Regions from separate parts of the Homo sapiens genome. Here region 2 is linked to region 1. The links are contacts of gene promoters, found by promoter capture Hi-C in blood cells and fetal thymus (Javierre and others, 2016). All regions are on one chromosome and are shown on one strand. The core of a region is centred on a gene start or on the middle of the fragment in contact, and the rest is flanking DNA. Distances in the headings are between cores, read along the strand shown.

Region 1 (3,350 bases), core at 756-3,255:
CCCAGTCTCTACTAAAAATACAAAAAATTAGCCGGGCATGGTGGCGGCTGCCTGTAGTCCCAACTACTCCGGAGGCTGAGGCAGAAGAATAGCTTGAACCCGAGAGGCAGAGGTTGCAGTGGGCCGAGATTGCACCACTGCACTCCAGCTTGGGCGACAAGACCGAAACTCAAAAAAATAAAAAAGATTATTCTTTCAAGTTGTTTCCAAATCACAAGCGGACAATAAATACAGAAGAAAAATCCTTACCTGCATGCAATGAATAGCTAAGCCAGGTCCTGTATACAATTTCTTGTGACATATATGGCATTTAAAATGCTTTGCTTTTTGGTGCTGAATAAGGATCTTCTCATCATCAAAATCTCTATTACAATACCTGATCAATACTGTTAAGGCACAAAGACAGCCTAATGATGACACTGCCTATAATAAAAACATATGGATAACATTACAATATGGGAACAGCTAAAACCAAAATGGTACTGTATAGAAACTCTGCTTTTTATATTTATTACACAATTAGGGACTACACTTGCCATGTTATTTCAGTATTTTCAATTTCCTAGAAGGCCAGCTCTCTTCACCACCCCAAAAAACACATCTCAATAATCAGCAATATACTTTGTCAAATTCCTGTGTTTAACAGAGATGTCGGTGAAACTTTTGTTATAAATATTTCAACATTTACAAATGCACACTGAGGACAGGAAAGAGTTCAGTTAAGAAATCCCTAAGGTTCTGTCAAGACAATTACTTCACTAGATATGAAGACGATAGCAATAACTGGATTAGGAATTTAGCAATATTTAGAATCTAAGAGTAACTATATGGTGAACAATAATCACATAATTTCGAATGAACAATCCATAAAGTTGTTTCCAATTCCGTATGAATTTATGTTGCCAAGCAATGTATTTAAATTCACAGATCAATAAAATCAATAAAGCAGAATTCTTACATCAATAAAACAGAATTCTTACCTCACTACTCAGATTTTCCTAAAATCACATTACAAAATTCGTAACCGTATTTAAGCTATTTTTAAAACTGTTACATAAACGCAGTACTGTAACAAGCCGCCTTTACGTACAAAACAGTAAATAAAATCAATTTTAATGTAAAGAATATTAACGCTTCCAGAAAAAGCATTAATACCACACTGTAGTAAGAGTTTTCCTAATAAGATAGGCACTTTTTAGTCCTACAAAGTTGGGTAACAGAAACTCCGCCCTGTGAGAACGCTTCCTGAAGATTAAGGCGCCTCTGGGTGAGACACGGAAGCTAGTTCTCCTCCCGCCCCGAAAAGAAAAAAAAAAAAAAAAAGGTTCGAAACCAGGGTTGACTAACTTGGTTCTTTACTAAACCGCCAATTCGAAAAAATAAACACAAAACACACATAAAGTAAATAAAAACAGAAAAAGTGGGTGACAGACTGTGAAGCTGTCCCCAACCCTCCATGAAAGTAATAAGCCTATCGCACTCGAAGAAAAGTCCCTTGTTGAATCGTCACCAAAACAACGGAAGGTGGCTGAATAGTCCCTAGGGGACACTGTCCCTGGCGGAGGGGTCCAGGCCGCCTCCCGGAGTCCAAAATTCGCACCGAACAAGATCCTCCTGAGTCACAGAGTCACACGACCCACAACTGCAAAAGCCTGTCGACCTCGGAACCCCATTTTCCTAGAAGCCTTCCCAAGTCCAATCCCAGCCACCAGGCCACCCACGCAGACGCCTAAATACAAACGCTCCACGCCGTAAGCCAAATCCAGGCCTCCTAGTCCCAGGCCCCAACAACCGGCACCCCAACGCGACCTCGACTTCAAACCGACAAAGGATACCAGCACCACGGCTTCAGCTGCTTCTTCTTCTTGCGACCCATAACTGTGTTCTACCGGCAAAGTAAAAGGGAGGAGAAAAGAAGCAGGAGAAACGAGGCCAAAAATCCCTCACTTTCCCAACCCAACGGCTACCACCACGTCCCACAGGAAGCAGACACAAAATGGCCGACGGCCTCGTTCCCCGCTCCGCCTCCCGTCAAGCACTGCGGTAGGAGGCGGAGCCAAGAAGGGGAGGGTCACATGACGCAGACCTCCGCCCTGAGTGGGTGGGACTAAGAGGCGCGAAGAGGTGGCAGCCATCTTGTCCGTTTCAGAGTTTTTCGCTTTCGCTGGCTGTGCTTGCGGAGCACTTTGGGTTTCATTTGTAAAGGAGCCGGAGCCCCAGGTACGCTAAGGGGCATGCGAATGGAAAACAGAAAACAAAAAAACGGAAAAGATTGCCAGTGCAGTTAGGGCCGATCACAAATAAAGATAGAGACAGCGCCCAATTTTAATTTTGTTTCAATTGAACAGTAAATGTTGATTATGTGCCTATTAAATGCTAAACCAAATAAGTTAGTCTCTGCTTTGTAACTCGCAGATTGGTGACAGACGAGTACACAATGCAGAGTTCTCAGTGCGGCGTTGAGGGAAATGCGAAGTGCTGTAGGACCTCAGAGAGCGGGAGTCCTAGGGCGGCTGTAGTGGTAGTGGTCGTTGGGTTGTCAAGTAAAGTTTTGTTTTTCTTTGTTTTGTTTTATTTTTCTGAGACCAAGTCTCGCTCTGTCTCCCAGGCTGGAGTGCAGCGGCGCGATCTCTGCTCACTGCAACCTCCGTCTCCCGGGTTCAAGCGATTCTCCTACCTCAGCCTCCCGAGTAGCTGGGACTGCAGGCCCGCGCCACCAAGCCCGGCTAATTTTTGTATTTTTAGTAGAATGGGGTTTCACCATGTTAGCGAGGCTGGTCTCGAACTCCTGGGCTCAAGTGATCCGCCCGCCTCGGCCTCCCAAAGTGCTGGATTGCAGGCTTGAGCCGCTGCGCCCGACATAAGAAAGGTTTCTTGAGGAGTCAACGGGAGCAAGCAAGGTGAAGGAAAGGGTATCTCCGTAAGGGAGCAAAGAGTTTAAGTCTTTGAGGCTGGGCACGTGAAAAACTAATCGTGGTAAGACTGGAGCTGATAGCCGGGCGCGGTTGCTCACGCCAGTAATCCCAACACTATGGGCCAAGGCCGAGGCAGGCGGATCACTTGAGGTCAGGAGTTCGAGACCAGCCTGGCCGACATGGTGAAACCCTGTCTCTACTAAAAATACAAAAATTAGCCAGGCGTAGTGGCAGGCGCCTGTAACCTCAGCTACTCGGGAGAATGAGGCAGGAGAATCACTTGGACCTGGGAGGTGAAGGTTGCAGTGAGCCGAGATCTCGCCATTGCATTCCAGCCTGGGTGACAGAGTGAGACTCCGTCTCAAAAAAAAAAAAAAAAGACTGGAGCTGTCAGTGAAGGTGCTGGTCACAAGAGATAATCCTAGGGAGGCTAGC
Region 2 (3,256 bases), core at 251-2,750, 130 kb after region 1:
CCTGACCTCAGGTGATCCACCCACCTCGGCCTCCCAAAGTGCTGGGATTACACGATTGAGCCACCACTCCCGGCTGAGTATTCCTTTTATACAGAATAATTTTCAATATGAGAGATAGAAACCAGAGGACTTCACTCACATCTGTACAGAAATATTTACTTTAGATGACAAAAGAACTCAAGATCACAGTACACAGCAGTTATTTATTTAAATACTTGAAAAGGCTGATGATGGAAAAAATAGGTTTATCATGAGAGTTTATATTCATTAGATTTATTTTATCATTTAAAAAATTACTGCCTCTAGGTTATCCTAGCCTGATATAGAACACTTGGTGACACATGCAGTTACTGTAATATACTATAACAGACACAGCCATTATAGAATGATTTACACTTGGGATGAAATTCAACAGTAGTAAGGGTGACTCTTTATTTAAACTAAAAACATTGGTAATATACAAATTTTTTTTTTATTTCATTGAAAGGGCTATAAAATTCAACATACTGACAAGGAAGCAACATAATCACATAGATAACGCCTCTGCTAATTGCTTTTACCTAACTTCACCCTTAAAGGTGAGCTGCACACTCAGCTACACAAGTTTCTAGACTGTGCGATGGCTTCAAGGCTGGCCTACCACAACTGACTGAAAAAATGTCATGTTGGTAAGCTGACACTGACTTGTATGTTTTTAAAAATGGAGAGACAATGGCAAATTGTACCTTATGTCCTTATAGAACCCAAAGGATCATTCTGAGTAAATGTGAAATAAATAAAGTGATCCATGAGTAAATACAATCTCTGGGCTAACTTAAACCTAGAAGAGTGAGCCAAGTGAGCACTAACAATACCACTTAGAAATGTCTAGAAACATCATTTCTAGAACTCAGCTTGGGAGACCATATCTTGCCTGAATATGTACATATATTTACAAAATATTCCCTTTTGGCCTCTGGAATTTAGCCATTTTAGTTTGGCTGTTAGCTGTTTTCTTTCCATATGCTAGCCAATACTGCAGTTATAACTATCATTAAAATACTCTTATGCATGAATTACAAATATTAATAAAGTAACTCTGCATGTATAAATATCTCAATAATTCTAGCAGAACTTAAAGCATTCAGAATGTACATAAAAGTATTTGTTTTTGGTAGGGACAGTATTTCTTTTTATATCATCGCTGTTTCAATAATGCTTTGTACATAGCAAAGCCCAAAACTGCAAAAACAGTAGCACCAAAACTTGCTCGAAGCCAAAACGTGGAGCTCTTGAGGTCAGCTTGTGTCACGTGCCTGCAGTCAGAAAATATAATTATTATTTAAAACATGATTAGTATGAAAACCCTATACCAGTTATTTAGCAGTCTACTTTTAGGGAAGTATTAGCACACTTGTCAAGCTAACTGCATACAGTAATGCTTATCAAAAACATTGATCAATATAGCCATATATATAATTACTTAATCATTACTTTAAGAAAATGACACAATGTAGATACTAATAAAGACAATTAGCTACTTTGTGGGAGTAGACATCTAAATTTGTAAACTTTTTTTCACACAGGAAATAAAGAAGTTAGACAAATCAATCTAGCATTTTATAATACCGTTACGGTTGTTCAAAATGAAAATTAAGGCGGTGTTCCCACAATTTTGAGGATCATATTCATGGTTAAATAATGTGCAATCTCCTATCCCCAGGAACTGAAAGCTATTTTGTAAGCAGTTAAGTGACAAGTGACAATACTTTTCTAAGAGAAATGATTAAAGTCAACTTTGGAAACACTGAGCCTCATAAAAATTTACAAAAAACCCCCCAAAAAACCCGAAGGGGGAGGGGAAGATTTATCAGTTTGCATTAATTTGGTTACTGCTAATTAAAGAGAAAAAAACCAATCCCTGGTGTTAGACAGGCAGTGATAATGATACCAACTAACAGACATAACGTAATGTGATGGATTGAAAGGCAATGACATAAAATAAGCCATAGTATGCATGACAAGAACAGGGACAGCCTGTACCACAAACTGAGTTGTGAGCATGCTCAGTAAGTACCCTCAAGAGTCTCAAGTATGACAGCTTACCATGAAGAGGATAAAGCTCTAAAGAAAAGGTCAGAACATTTTATTTAAATGTCACTGAAGTCTTAGTTACTAAGTGAACACAATTGAGATGATGTAGAAAACTTAAAAAATTGGCCGGGTGCAGTGGCTCATGCCTGTAATCCCAGCACTTCGGAGGCTGAGGCGGGTGGATCACCTGAGGTCAGGAGTTCGAGACTGGCCTGGCCAACATGGTGAAACCCCGTCTCTACTAAAAATATAAAAAGTGGCCGGGCATGGTGGTGGGTGCCTGTAATCCCAGCTACTTGGGAGGCTGAGGCAGGAGAATTGCTTGAACCTAGAAGACGGAGTTTGCAGTGAGCCGACACGGTGCCACTGCACTCCAGCCTGGGTGACAGAGTGAGACTCTATCGCAAAAAAAAAAAAAAAGAAAGAAAAGAAAACTTACAAAATTAAGAGCTTAGAGAGACTGTCTAGTTTAGGTTATTTTATAACTAAGTTAAACAGATTTGAAGCAAAAGTCAGATATCATTAAAAGACCAAGGCACTGACATATGCAAAAGAGTTAAGAGCCAAGAATTCAAACTGCACAAAACTACTTTGCCTCAGTAATAGTCAAAGAGAACAGATTAGTTATCACAAAATAGTCTGTACATCCCTAGAAACAAAAGTCTACAACACAAGCCAGAGTGCTCCATGCTTAACACAACAAAGCAAGACACAACACTCCAATTCTCACCCTCACCAGTTTCTATTTAAAAAAAAAAAATCACTCCTCACATAATTATTTCTTACAAAGCAAAGTGATATCACAGGTTCATTCCAGCTTGCAAGTTAGTTTTTCCAACAGGCAGCATTTTATTAAAAAAAAAGTCAGAGAAGAAAATGCTTAGGTTTTTCAAGCTGGAAAAACTCCAACGAGGCCAACCCATTGGAAATGTTACCTGGCTTCAAGAAAAAGTGGACCATGAGATGACTCCATGAAGATGGAATCTTCTACAGAGCTGACAGCATGCACCTGGTGAGTAATACTGCCCTCATCGTCTGCTAACAGCATGGCACCCCACTCAGCTATCCGGGCTCTTAACCTTTTATACACATGCACACAGTTTGCAGTTCACAGCAGAGCTCACAAAAAAAGGGACTCAAAATAACATCTCTCAATTATGCATCCCACACATAAATTGAGTTG

What was found. The method cuts DNA at HindIII sites, captures the fragments that hold promoters and counts their contacts. A CHiCAGO score of 5 or more calls a contact.
Region 2: a contact is called between a fragment that was not itself captured here and the fragment with the promoter of ZNF207 in region 1, in 4 of 17 cell types (erythroblasts, M0 macrophages, monocytes and 1 more). The highest score is 6.9, in erythroblasts.

What each region holds. Positions count from the first base shown.
Region 1 is chr17:32,348,812-32,352,161 of GRCh38, reverse strand. ZNF207 (zinc finger protein 207) reads right to left here and starts at 2,005. Exons shown (of 12, transcript NM_001098507.2): 1 at 1,836-2,005; 2 at 250-376. The coding sequence starts at 1,876. It overlaps MIR632 (microRNA 632), which reads right to left and starts at 2,053; the gene lies at 1,960-2,053. It also overlaps a transcript of C17orf75 not described here. RefSeq lists enhancers at 1,916-2,265, 2,436-2,555. The HindIII fragment of the contact is 13,651 bases long and covers 1-3,350 here.
Region 2 is chr17:32,222,655-32,225,910 of GRCh38, reverse strand. RHOT1 (ras homolog family member T1) reads right to left here. Exons shown (of 20, transcript NM_001033566.3): 20 at 184-1,295. The coding sequence ends at 1,178. Among named protein-coding and RNA genes, the nearest start is that of RHBDL3, 42 kb to the left of the region's middle. The HindIII fragment of the contact is 6,005 bases long and covers 1-3,256 here.